2 separate regions of the Homo sapiens genome follow, and region 1 is linked to region 2. The links are contacts of gene promoters, found by promoter capture Hi-C in blood cells and fetal thymus (Javierre and others, 2016). All regions are on one chromosome and are shown on one strand. Each heading gives the region's core, a stretch centred on a gene start or on the middle of the fragment in contact. The rest is flanking DNA. Distances are from core to core; before and after follow the strand shown. Region 1 overlaps HAS3 (hyaluronan synthase 3). Region 2 holds the start of CDH1 (cadherin 1).

The links. Contacts are between HindIII fragments. The CHiCAGO score rates a contact against its expected background, and 5 or more counts as called.
Region 1: a fragment that was not itself captured here is called in contact with the fragment with the promoter of CDH1 in region 2 in 1 of 17 cell types (megakaryocytes); the score reaches 6.0 in megakaryocytes.

The regions. Positions count from the first base shown.
Region 1 is chr16:69,111,375-69,117,733 of GRCh38, forward strand. It overlaps HAS3 (hyaluronan synthase 3), which reads left to right. Exons shown (of 4, transcript NM_001199280.2): 3 at 2,067-2,168; 4 at 2,969-6,286. The coding sequence ends at 3,892. Among named protein-coding and RNA genes, the nearest start is that of HAS3, 8.9 kb to the left of the region's middle. The HindIII fragment of the contact is 163 bases long and covers 4,934-5,096 here.
Region 2 is chr16:68,733,614-68,740,160 of GRCh38, forward strand. CDH1 (cadherin 1) reads left to right here and starts at 3,679. Exons shown (of 16, transcript NM_004360.5): 1 at 3,679-3,850; 2 at 4,684-4,798. The coding sequence starts at 3,803. It also overlaps a transcript of CDH3 not described here. RefSeq lists an enhancer at 2,700-2,844, a cis regulatory region at 2,772 and a silencer at 3,725-3,794. The HindIII fragment of the contact is 3,737 bases long and covers 1,584-5,320 here.

The DNA of each region.
Region 1 (6,359 bases), core at 3,765-6,264, 380 kb after region 2:
GCCAGGATTCTTGATGGCATCCATGCTGCCTCTCTTCCTGACTCTGTTCTCTGACCTCCACGCCTGCCAGAGCAGGGTGCTGCCCATCACTTGATCAGTGCTTGAAGGTGCAGTGGCTGTCCTGCCAGCCCACCTGTGTACCAACTCAGTCTGCTGACAGCATTTTGAGTCCCCTAATACGATTTTTCTCTGGTGTACACACCTAAAATTAGCTCACTCAGATTGCGTGTCTGGCTTTTTTGACAGTTGTCTCTGCATGAGGGTTGATATGTTTATCTTTTTCTGGCTTCCTAGGCCCAGGACCTCCTCAGTCATGGAGGGAGTTAGGAGAGCTTAGCAGGCTGTTTTGACTGCAGTTCACCTGGGGTCGTGGGACCTTGTGAAACTTTCCTGGGGACCCAAATGCTTAGGGAAAAGCCCTTGAGCCCTGGCACAGGCTCAAGCCACAGTGACTTTGTCATCTATTCCCTTCAAGCACAGGATCTCACCCCCACCCCACCCTGCCATCTCCCTTTCCTGGCCATCTGGGTTCTGGTGGATCAGCAAACAGGCTCACACACCTGAGCTGTCTCTTTACAGCCCTGGGATCACTGCATAAGGTTGCCCTGGGCCAGAGCCAGTGAGCGCTTGCTGGATCTCAGCCTGTCTTCTAACCGCCTGCTGCGGAGGTATCTCTCCCTCCTAGGCAGAACTCTGCCCGAGCCAGTGGGGAAACCCAGGCAGCACGAGAGCTCTTCTTTCCCTAACCTTGCTCAGTTAGAAAGACATCCAAGACATCCCTGGACTGAAGGAAGCAAAGCAGCATATAAAGAATGGGCTAGGGCAGGGGCAGGGAGGAGCAGTGAGACCAGCAGAACAGCAGCAGTGCTGGGAGTCTTGGCCTGTAAGTGGAGGAGGCTCTGCTAGTCTGGCCTGAGGCTTCCTGGGCCCTTCCCAGGCATGGACCAGGATGTAAGGATATGCCTGGTGGGGAGGTGGGAAGAAGCACATATGAGGGACTCAGCCTGGTGCTGATGCTGTTCTGATTCCCCCTTAGCCTTCTACTGCTTATCTGTGGCCACCCTGTCTTCCAACATAGAGAAAGCTGGGTGGGGTTGTGGTGTCAGAGGCAGCCTCCTTTCCTGCAGGAATCTTACTCAGCAACTTTAATACAAGGATCTTAGGCTTCTACAGAACAGGGTTTTGGTTTATCTGTGGATCTCTTTGTTGCTCTCCTAACAGTGACCACAGAGTAAATCAGGTCTGTAAACCAGTTCTCCTGGCCAATGCTCACTGGATTTGTGTACCACTTCACTAATTTTTTAGAAACCAGAAAAGGAGTCAGCCACTAGGGCAACTAGTGGCCTGGGTTCAACTCATAATGAGACCACCTGTTAGAATCAGGCCATAAGCCTCCCAAGAGCTGGGCAGAGTTGGCCCTGGGGTCTGCCTGGAGGCAGCTGCTGCAGCTTCCATGCCTATTCAGAGCAGCCTCCAGGGGGAGCCCTCAGCCATACCGTGCCCTGGTCCGAGAGGCTCGGCCAAGGGAGTCTGTTGAGGGCGCAGAGGCCAGCAGCCTTATTACTGGTCTCATAGAGGTGCCTGCAAGTAGGTAGTCTGGTAACCACCAGTGGGCTGCAGGTTGTCCAAGGGGTCAGAGGCTGACACGGGGACCCCTGTGGTTAATTCTGTGGGGTCACTTAAGGCCATATGCAGCCTGTTAGTCCTGGGCTACCCTACTGTGCCTGCCATCTGATTTCAGTGACGTTTCCCTTCTGCCGAAGGACCCCAGAGCAATTTTTTGCGTCCAGTGCTAAGCATGTCTCTCTCCACGCCTGGCACCTACTGTCTTCAGGGTTTCTCCCTCTCAGCCTAGTGGCTGTCAAGTCTGGTAGCTGTACACTTTTACTAGCTTTCATTTTACCTCTGGCACCTTCTGGTAGCGCAGATCTCTTAGCTAGAGGCTGGAAGTGAGTCATGTGTGAAGGGGTCATGTCTCTCAGGCAGTGAGCAGCCTGGCAGTGGGGTGGGGGACAGGGTGTGCAGGTCTGAGGTCAGAATGGGCTGACGACGCACTCCCTCTGCAGGTGTGCGACTCTGACACTGTGCTGGATCCAGCCTGCACCATCGAGATGCTTCGAGTCCTGGAGGAGGATCCCCAAGTAGGGGGAGTCGGGGGAGATGTCCAGGTAAGATGAGACCAGGGATATCTGTGGGGAGGGGTCTGGACTCTTTTTCCTAATCCAATTGGATATGCCTGGGAAATGGGTGTCTTGACTTCCTAGTATTGGGGGGAGGTTCCTCGCTGGCAGTTTTCACTGACACCAAAGAGCTCGCCCCCCTCACTGCCCAACCCCTTTCTTGCTCTTCTTCCACATGAGGGGAAGTCACTTAAACAGGTATGGAGCAGAGTCTATACTGCAGGAGGGGCACAGTATTTTGAGGCCATACATCCTAGAAGGTACTTCCTTTTTGGCCGGTGGTACAGCAAGTAGCTCCAAAGTCAGATCCTTGAGCAGCCCTTGCTCTTAGGAGATGGGCTGAAGAGCTCTGGTCAATACGGTAAGAATAAGGGCCCCAATCTGCCAGAGATACTGAAGCAGCATCCCAGGTCCCCTACAACTTTCCAACCACAGAAATCTCAGGACAGGTGGTTGTGGTGGTGTTTTGCATTCTTCCCAAGCCCCCTTCTCTGCCACCACCACAGGCTGCCTCCTGAGACCGAAGGTGGCTTTGACTGCTAGAGCCACTTAGTGGGGAAAATCTCTGCAGATAAGATGACACAGTAGGGAGGTAGAGCTGGTGCTGGGGACAGGGATTGTGTGTGGTTGGCTCCTCTGAGCCTCAGGTTTCCCAGCTCCAAAGGAACCGATGGCCAGGAATCTAAGCAGCGGGCCACAGAAGCCATGGTAAGGAGGCCTCGTGGTCTCTGATGTCTGTCCTCCGGACGTGCAACCTTAGGAGGCCCAGCATCTCTATTCCCTTGCAGATCCTCAACAAGTACGACTCATGGATTTCCTTCCTGAGCAGCGTGCGGTACTGGATGGCCTTCAACGTGGAGCGGGCCTGCCAGTCCTACTTTGGCTGTGTGCAGTGTATTAGTGGGCCCTTGGGCATGTACCGCAACAGCCTCCTCCAGCAGTTCCTGGAGGACTGGTACCATCAGAAGTTCCTAGGCAGCAAGTGCAGCTTCGGGGATGACCGGCACCTCACCAACCGAGTCCTGAGCCTTGGCTACCGAACTAAGTATACCGCGCGCTCCAAGTGCCTCACAGAGACCCCCACTAAGTACCTCCGGTGGCTCAACCAGCAAACCCGCTGGAGCAAGTCTTACTTCCGGGAGTGGCTCTACAACTCTCTGTGGTTCCATAAGCACCACCTCTGGATGACCTACGAGTCAGTGGTCACGGGTTTCTTCCCCTTCTTCCTCATTGCCACGGTTATACAGCTTTTCTACCGGGGCCGCATCTGGAACATTCTCCTCTTCCTGCTGACGGTGCAGCTGGTGGGCATTATCAAGGCCACCTACGCCTGCTTCCTTCGGGGCAATGCAGAGATGATCTTCATGTCCCTCTACTCCCTCCTCTATATGTCCAGCCTTCTGCCGGCCAAGATCTTTGCCATTGCTACCATCAACAAATCTGGCTGGGGCACCTCTGGCCGAAAAACCATTGTGGTGAACTTCATTGGCCTCATTCCTGTGTCCATCTGGGTGGCAGTTCTCCTGGGAGGGCTGGCCTACACAGCTTATTGCCAGGACCTGTTCAGTGAGACAGAGCTAGCCTTCCTTGTCTCTGGGGCTATACTGTATGGCTGCTACTGGGTGGCCCTCCTCATGCTATATCTGGCCATCATCGCCCGGCGATGTGGGAAGAAGCCGGAGCAGTACAGCTTGGCTTTTGCTGAGGTGTGACATGGCCCCCAAGCAGAGCGGGTAAAGTGCAATGGGTAAGGGAGGGAAGGGGAATGGAAGAGAAAAGACAGGGTGGGAGGGAGGAGGGAGTGCTGTGTTTTAGTCTCTTAATGGTCCAAAGGACAAATCTAAAATGCAAAGAACGGTGATGTAGTATGGCCTGACAGCTCTGTTTAGAGGAGGCAACACTGATCCCCCAGATGCAGGGCTGCAGGGGATTCTGTGTTTTCAGACTGCCTGTCTGCTTGCATCTGCACATAGGCAGTAGCCTCCTCCTGGGCTCCAGAGGGCACTCAGAAGTTGTGCTAAACCAAGTTAAGTCCCATTCAGTGGCAACTTGTGATAGGTACCTGAGTGACGGCAACCTGCGGAAGGAGGTTCTCCCAGCCCATCTGAACACAACCAGAGGTGGCAGGAGAATTTCTACTGAGCGAGCTGGGCCGGTTAGTGTATGTCACCCCCACCCCACCCCTAAGTAGTCATCAATGCAATAAGATTGCGCCTGAGATACAAGGCCCAGAAGCCTGATCTTTGGGCATCAGAAAACAGGGTCCAGGAATGGTGCTTTATGTGAGATACCCCACTCCACATCAACATTCCAGGGATGAGCCAAACCAGCAGGGAGTTAGCACTGAACTGCTTTTAAAAGTGCACATTAAAAAGGAAAGTTTGCCAGGAGGAACAAAGAGATTGTGGTGGTGCTAAAGGAGGCCATAAGCTACACAGAGGCCTTGGGTGTTCCACCTGGAAACTGCTCAGACGTCTAGATGGGTTCTTAGCTTGTCTGTGATCTCTGCTGGGGAGATAAAAAGATTAAGCCCCAACATGTTCAGAAAAGAAGTGAAGTCTTGGGTATTTTAACCTGTATACTCTTGAATTCCTCTCAAATTCAGCTCTGATCTGAGGCTAAGACACACTCCCCACTTCACTTTCTTCAAAGCCACATTTTTTGAGGTATCACTGCAGTCACCTCTTCTACCCTCATCATCATAGGTAAGGTTTTCAAGGTGGCAATTGGGGCGGAGCCCCGGCTCTTATAGAAGCTTCAGCAGGAGGCAAGCGTGTTCTCAGCACATATGGGAACTATGAGGAGCCTCTGATCAAATTGGCTACAATCTTGGAGCTGCTTGGACGGATTCCTTGGCAGCCGGGTTAGCATGTGTGACTTTCAGGCTACTGTTCTTGACAATCATCTCCAATGGAAAGCTTTTCAGTGTTCCCAAAGTGAACTCTCAAATCCAAAATGGTTATCTTTGAGACCATCCATTCTCCTCAGTGGCTTCTCCAGGGAATTCTTACAGCCAAGTTGTGACAGTCACTGCATTTGCCTGCTTCTTTCCAGAAACCAAACTAGGAGATGAAACTGGTTCCTACATCCTAAGGTTCTTGCTTTCTCTCTCATGCCTCCTGAGGCTGTTTTTGGCTGTTTTCCCTCTGCTGCTTTTGGGGAATGAGGGGAAGCCATTTTCCAGTGACTTGCAATCCAGGCTGTTCTCAGCGTTTTGAGTTTAAAACCTGGGATCCTGACTAAGCCTTTGACTTAAGGGTTGCTTGCTTGCCCTCCAAATGTCCTTTCTCAGAGGGGCCAGCTAACCCGTGCAGAACCAGCACTAAGGTGGACAGCAGACAAGAGGGCAAGCCTCTAGTGTACCAAGTGCTTCCTACAAAGACGCAAGGTGTGCTCTGAGCCACAGATGGGCAAACCCTGGTGCTTTCCTTCATCTCCCACGAACTCAAGGGTTTTCCAGGTGTAGCTAACAGTTGCCACATCACACAGACCTCGAGTTTCTGGTAAGACTGCTGGTTGACATCAGACCCAACCCATGAAGGCTGGAAGGCAGCAGGCATTTGCTAAGGCAGCTGATCCAGGCAATCGTTCTGCTGGCCAAGAAGTTAAACTATTTTGAGCATTAGAATGGAGGAAATCCGGTCAGCCAAGTGCAGAGTTCAGACTTCGCTAAGGGCTTGTTTTTCTTCAGCATTTACTTGAAGATTAATGTAGGATGACAGGCTCTCCTGGCTGTCCTACCATCAGCTCTGCCTTGCACTGTGGTCGTCAACTTTCCTCAAATCAAAAACAGGCAGGTACAGGTAGTGGGCTCACAACGTTTGACCTCGACTGGTTTTTCTAAGTTATTTTGTACATTTTTCAGCAGCAAAACCAAACTGGGTCTTCAGCTTTATCCCCGTTTCTTGCAAGGGAAGAGCCTTTATACAATTGGACGCATTTTGGTTTTTCCTCATTGAGAATTCAAATCCTCTTTTGTATTGTTTCTACAATAATTTGTAAACATATTTATTTTTACCTGCTTTTTTTTTTTTTTTTAATTTTCAGGTCAAGTTTTTTATACTGCACTTATTTGTCAAAATAAAGATTCTCACATATGCCGGTTATCTCGAAACTACTACTTTGTATTTAATGAAAGCTAGCTCTTTATTCCAGTTTCCAAAGAGGGACTTAAAATAG
Region 2 (6,547 bases), core at 2,429-4,928:
TGTCTGTAATCACAGCTACTCAGGAGGCTGAGGCACAAGAATCTCTTGAACCTGGGAGGCAGAGAGTGCAGTGAGCCGAGATCGCGCCATTGCACTCCAGCCGGGGCAACAGAGCAAGACCTTGTCACTAAATAAATAAATAGGAAACAGAGAAGCAATTCAGTGTGTTGCGAAAGTCACACAGCACCTGTCTTCCACAAGGAGCCCCTCTGTGTTCCCGCCTCACCCTGGACACCTGATCTACTGTCTTTGGAGCTTGGAGAAGGACTTGCCGAGAAGTCTGAAGAATGCATCAGGCCTGACCTGACTTTGCTGCCCCTAATTGTTTTCTAAAATCCTTTTTATTGAATTATCAGAGTGTAATGGAAGAGTCGATGAGAGTCGCTGCAGAGTTACGAGGCCAAGGCTTGCTGGGTAGAAGAAAGTAAAGCCCTAAAGGCTCCCAGGGCCCAGCGATGGTATAAAATATGTATTTTTACATAACTGAGAGGAAAAAAATAAGCAGACAGTACAGCCCCATGGGGGAAACGCCTCTTTCTGTATTTCCATTATCTTGTTCAAGGCACGATCCTAGTGGGAAAGGAAATACCGGAGCCTTCTCCCTCTGAGCCTCCTGGTGGGTTAAGAGCAGAGGGAGCCAAAATACGACATCCAAAAGACCTGATTGGAAACTCATTAAAATTGAGGGGACAGGTTGTTGGGGGGGGCGGTGCTGGGCTGCCCAGAAATCGTCTGCATTTGAGAAATTACTTGATGGACTCAGAGGCACCTTTAGCTCTGGGTGAAATATTCCAAACATGGCTTTCCCCAGGAGGAAGCGAAATAGGGGCTGGGCCTTTTGAAAGAGTAACCCCTACTCCAAATATTTATTGAGCAGTTGCTATGATGAGCCAAGAACTCTGCTTAGCGATTGTTTTTGTATTAGCTCATGCCAATTCACTTATACAAAGGAGAACACTGACTTCCCCAAGGTCACAGGGCTAGTGAGTGGCTGACTCCACTTAATGCTGTGTAGTTCTAACCATGCTTGAAGGATAAAGGGAAAGGAGGTGCCCTTGTCGGGGTAGACAAGCCACCCAGACGTGGCTGGCCACAGGGAGTCAGACAGGGAAGTTGTCTAACCTAACATTTGCCTGTCTATTCTGTTTTTGTCTTTTGATGGAGGACGGCGGGTGCTGGAGGGCCACTGGCCCAGGACCTGAGACCTTTGGCCCCTATCTATTCTATTTTTGATCCTAAAATTATTTCACTGGGGACAGAATTCTCTGGAGAAGGTGATGGTGGCCATGGTGTGGCTGTGGCATTAAAAGCCCCACTCTGGGGGTCAGAAGATCCTGGGTTTTGGTCTTTGGCTTTGACATTGACCTGCCTATGTGACATTGAACAAGTTATTTGCAAATCATAGGTTTGGGTGAACTCTAAAGGTCTCTTCCAGGTCAACATCAAAAAACAGACTGAAAACTGCAGCTCCAGCTGGAAGACTGGGACCACATGAGATGAAGCTGATTGTTAGAAGAAAGGCCCTGGAATCAGAGAGGTTGGTTCCAGTCCTGCGCCACCTCTCATTGGCCTCAATCTCTCTAAGCTTCAGTTGCCCATCTATCATATGGGAATAATAATACAGCTCTTGGGTTGTTTTGAAATGAGCTTAAATGAGCTGGTCAGTGGCTGGGCACGGTGGCTCATGCCTGTAATCCCAGCACTTTGGGAGGCTGAGGCAGGTGGATCATCTGAGGACAGGAGTTCAAGACCAGCCTGGCCAACATGATGAAACCCTGTCTCTACTAAAAATACAAAAATTAGCCAGTCGTGGTGGCGCATGCCTGTAATCCCAGCTACTCAGGAGGCTGATAGAGGAGAACCGCTTGAACCCAAGAGGCGAAGGTTGCAGTGAGCCAAGAACACACCATTGCACTCCAGCCTGGGCGACAGAGCAGGACTCCGTCTCAAAAAAAAAAGAGCTGGTCAGTGTCAAATGCTTAGCACAGAGACTGGCACAGTAATCTTCAATGTCCAGCACCTATTGTTACTATTTTTTTTTTTTTTTTTTTTTTGAGACAGAGTCTTGCTCTGTCGCCCAGGCTGGAGTACAGTGGCGCGATCTCGGCTCACTGCAAGCTCCACCTCCCAGGTTCATGCCATTCTCCTGCCTCAGCCTCCCGAGTAGCTGGGACTACAGGCGCCCACCACCACGCCTGGCTAATTTTTTGTATTTTTAGTAGAGACGGGGTTTCACTGCGTTAGCCAGGATGGTCTCAATCTCCTGACCTCGTGATCTGCCCGCCTCGGCCTCCCAAAGTGCTGGGATTACAGGCGTGAGCCACCATGCCTGGCCCTATTGTTACTATTTTTACCCCTCACTTCTGTACAGAGCATTTATGGCTCAAGAAACATTTGTCATTTTAATTGTATGGGAGTCCCACAACAGCATAGGGAGACATTTCTGATCATTATTCCCATTAGGAGGGTGGAGAAACTGAGGCTTTGGGAGGTGGTCCTGACCTAGGGAATCAATTTGCTGACTCACTAACCCATGAAGCTCTACAGTTAAAAAAGACTAGATTAAAAAATGAGAACTCAGTAAAGGGGCTGAGGCAGGAGGATCGCCTGAGTTCAGAAATTTGAGATCAGCCTCGGCAACATAGTGAGATCCCCTCTCTAGAAAAATTTTTTAAAAAATTAGGCCGCTCGAGGCAGAGTGCAGTGGCTCACGCCTGTAATCCAACACTTCAGGAGGCTGAAGAGGGTGGATCACCTGAGGTCAGGAGTTCCAGACCAGCCTGGCCAACATGGTGAAACCCCGTCTGTACTAAAAATACAAAATTAGCCGGTGTGGTGGCACACGCCTGTAGTCCCAGCTACTCAATAGGCTGAGACAGGAGAGTCTCTTGAACCCGGCAGGCGGAGGTTGCAGTGAGCCGAGATCGTGCCACTGCACTCCAGCCTGGGCAAGACAGAGCGAGACTCCGTCTCAAAAAATACAAACAAAACAAACAAACAAAAAATTAGGCTGCTAGCTCAGTGGCTCATGGCTCACACCTGAAATCCTAGCACTTTGGGAGGCCAAGGCAGGAGGATCGCTTCAGCCCAGGAGTTCGAGACCAGGCTGGGCAATACAGGGAGACACAGCGCCCCCACTGCCCCTGTCCGCCCCGACTTGTCTCTCTACAAAAAGGCAAAAGAAAAAAAAATTAGCCTGGCGTGGTGGTGTGCACCTGTACTCCCAGCTACTAGAGAGGCTGGGGCCAGAGGACCGCTTGAGCCCAGGAGTTCGAGGCTGCAGTGAGCTGTGATCGCACCACTGCACTCCAGCTTGGGTGAAAGAGTGAGACCCCATCTCCAAAACGAACAAACAAAAAATCCCAAAAAACAAAAGAACTCAGCCAAGTGTAAAAGCCCTTTCTGATCCCAGGTCTTAGTGAGCCACCGGCGGGGCTGGGATTCGAACCCAGTGGAATCAGAACCGTGCAGGTCCCATAACCCACCTAGACCCTAGCAACTCCAGGCTAGAGGGTCACCGCGTCTATGCGAGGCCGGGTGGGCGGGCCGTCAGCTCCGCCCTGGGGAGGGGTCCGCGCTGCTGATTGGCTGTGGCCGGCAGGTGAACCCTCAGCCAATCAGCGGTACGGGGGGCGGTGCCTCCGGGGCTCACCTGGCTGCAGCCACGCACCCCCTCTCAGTGGCGTCGGAACTGCAAAGCACCTGTGAGCTTGCGGAAGTCAGTTCAGACTCCAGCCCGCTCCAGCCCGGCCCGACCCGACCGCACCCGGCGCCTGCCCTCGCTCGGCGTCCCCGGCCAGCCATGGGCCCTTGGAGCCGCAGCCTCTCGGCGCTGCTGCTGCTGCTGCAGGTACCCCGGATCCCCTGACTTGCGAGGGACGCATTCGGGCCGCAAGCTCCGCGCCCCAGCCCTGCGCCCCTTCCTCTCCCGTCGTCACCGCTTCCCTTCTTCCAAGAAAGTTCGGGTCCTGAGGAGCGGAGCGGCCTGGAAGCCTCGCGCGCTCCGGACCCCCCAGTGATGGGAGTGGGGGGTGGGTGGTGAGGGGCGAGCGCGGCTTTCCTGCCCCCTCCAGCGCAGACCGAGGCGGGGGCGTCTGGCCGCGGAGTCCGCGGGGTGGGCTCGCGCGGGCGGTGGGGGCGTGAAGCGGGGTGTAGGGGGTGGGGTGTGGAGAAGGGGTGCCCTGGTGCAAGTCGAGGGGGAGCCAGGAGTCGTGGGGACGATCTTCGAGGGAAGGAGAGGGGCATCCGTAGAAATAAAGGCACCTGCCATGCCAAGAAAGGTCGTAAATAGGAGTGAGGGTCCCGGGGATAAGAAAGTGAGGTCGGAGGAGGTGGGAGCGCCCCTCGCTCTGAGGAGTGGTGCATTCCCGGTCTAAGGAAAGTGGGGTACTGGAGAATAAAGACATCTCCAATAAAATGAGAAAGGAGACTGAAAGGGAACGGTGGGCTAGGTCTTGAGGGGGTGACTCGGCGGCCCCCTCCCGGGAGTTCCTGGGGGCTCGGCGGCCGTAGGTTTCGGGGTGGGGGAGGGTGACGTCGCTGCCCGCCCGTCCCGGGGCTGCGGGCTGGGGTCCTCCCCCAATCCCGACGCCGGGAGCGAGGGAGGGGCGGCGCTGTTGGTTTCGGTGAGCAGGAGGGAACCCTCCGAGTCACCCGGTTCCATCTACCTTTCCCCCACCCCAGGTCTCCTCTTGGCTCTGCCAGGAGCCGGAGCCCTGCCACCCTGGCTTTGACGCCGAGAGCTACACGTTCACGGTGCCCCGGCGCCACCTGGAGAGAGGCCGCGTCCTGGGCAGAGGTGAGGGCGCGCTGCCGGTGTCCCTGGGCGGAGTAGGGAGGGGTTGGAAAGGGGCCGAGAAATTGCACTCCCACACCCCTGGGTTGCAATGGGCAAGCTCCCTCCTTGGCTCAAACGACACCCCTTGGAATTTACGCAGATTTGGGGATCCAAACGTTTACGACTGAACACTGTGGTGGAGGGGGTAACCCTGCCTGGTTGTTGACTATGTTATAAAGAAGAGGAGGTTGAGGGCACTTACTAGAAGCCTTCGTATTTCTCTTATTGCCCTCAGCACTGTAGAGACAGTCTCTCATTTCAGACTGCAAAAACCTGGTGGGTGGGAAGGCCTGGCAGGAGTATTCCCGTTTTACAGTTGAGCAAACCGAGGCTAAGAGAGTGACGTCCACTTGCTCAGGGTCAGCAGAGCAGATATCTGAACTGGGATCTGACTCCCAGGCCCCATTAAGCACCATCTCTGGGATGACTGAAGAGCAGCCCTCTCTTGGTTACTGGGCTGTGGCTTTTGTTTACAGATATAAAAGCTTTTTTTTTTTTTTTTTTTTTTTTTTTTAAAGACAGGGTCTTGCTCTGTTGCCCAAGCTGGAGTGCAGTGGCACAATCATAGCTTACTGCAGCCTCCATCCTCTGGGCTCAAGTGATCCTTCCCATCTCAGCCTCCCTAGTAGCTGGTTATCATGGGCATGTGCCACCACACCTGGATAATTTTAACTTTTTTTTAGGCTGGGCGCAGTGGCTAACGCCTGTAATCCCAGCACTTTGGGAGGCCGAGGTGGGCGGATCACAAGGTCAGGAGTTCGAGACCAGCCTGGCCAACATGGTGAAACCCCATCTCTACTAAATAAAAATATAAAAATTAGCCGGGCATGGTGGCGTGTGCCTGTAATCCTAGCTACTCAGGAGGCTGAGGCAGGAGAATTGCTTAAACCCAGGAGGCAGAGGTTGCAGTGAGCTGAGATAGTGCCACCGCACTCCAACCTGGGTGACAGAGCAAGACTCCGTCTCAAAAAATAAATAAAAAATAAATTTTTTTTTAGAGACAGGAGTCTCTCCATGTTGCCCATGCTGGTGTTGAACTCTTGGGCTCAAAGGATCCTTCTGTCTCAGCCTCTCAAAGTGCTGGGATTGCAGGCCTGAGAGACTGTGCCTGGACCAAAACATCTTGATACAGGTACTGTTTCCCCCAAGGAATAATGATTTTTTTTTTTTTTTTTTTTTTTGAGATGGAGTTTTACTCTTGTTGCCCAGGCTGGAGTGTAATGGCGTGATCTCGGCTCACTGCCACCTCTGGCTCCCAGGTTCAAGTGATTCTCCTGCCTCAGCCTCCTGAGTAGCTGGGATTACAGGTGCCACCACCATGCCCAGCTAATTTTTTGTAGTTTTAGCAGAGAAGGGGTTTCACCATGTTGGCCAGGCTGGTCTGGATCTCCTGACCTCAGGTGACCCACCTGCCTCAATCTCCCAAAGTGCTGGGATTACAGGCATGAGCCAGCACGCCTGGCCAGGAATAATGATCTTTTTTTAAAAAAAGCATGGTAGTTCTGACTCAGGATGAAAATGCATACACCCAATGTACTTCTAGGCCTTATCGTTGTGACAATCTAGAGTTTGCTTTGTTCCACTTGACTGTTGTCCAGGGAGCAAGGGAAGGGGCTAGTTTCTCTTCTGGTTTCACTGAATCCCAAGTGCTTCCTTTATATCAAACCACTTTCTCCTCTCTCATGATTTTACTTGATTGGGTATCACAAT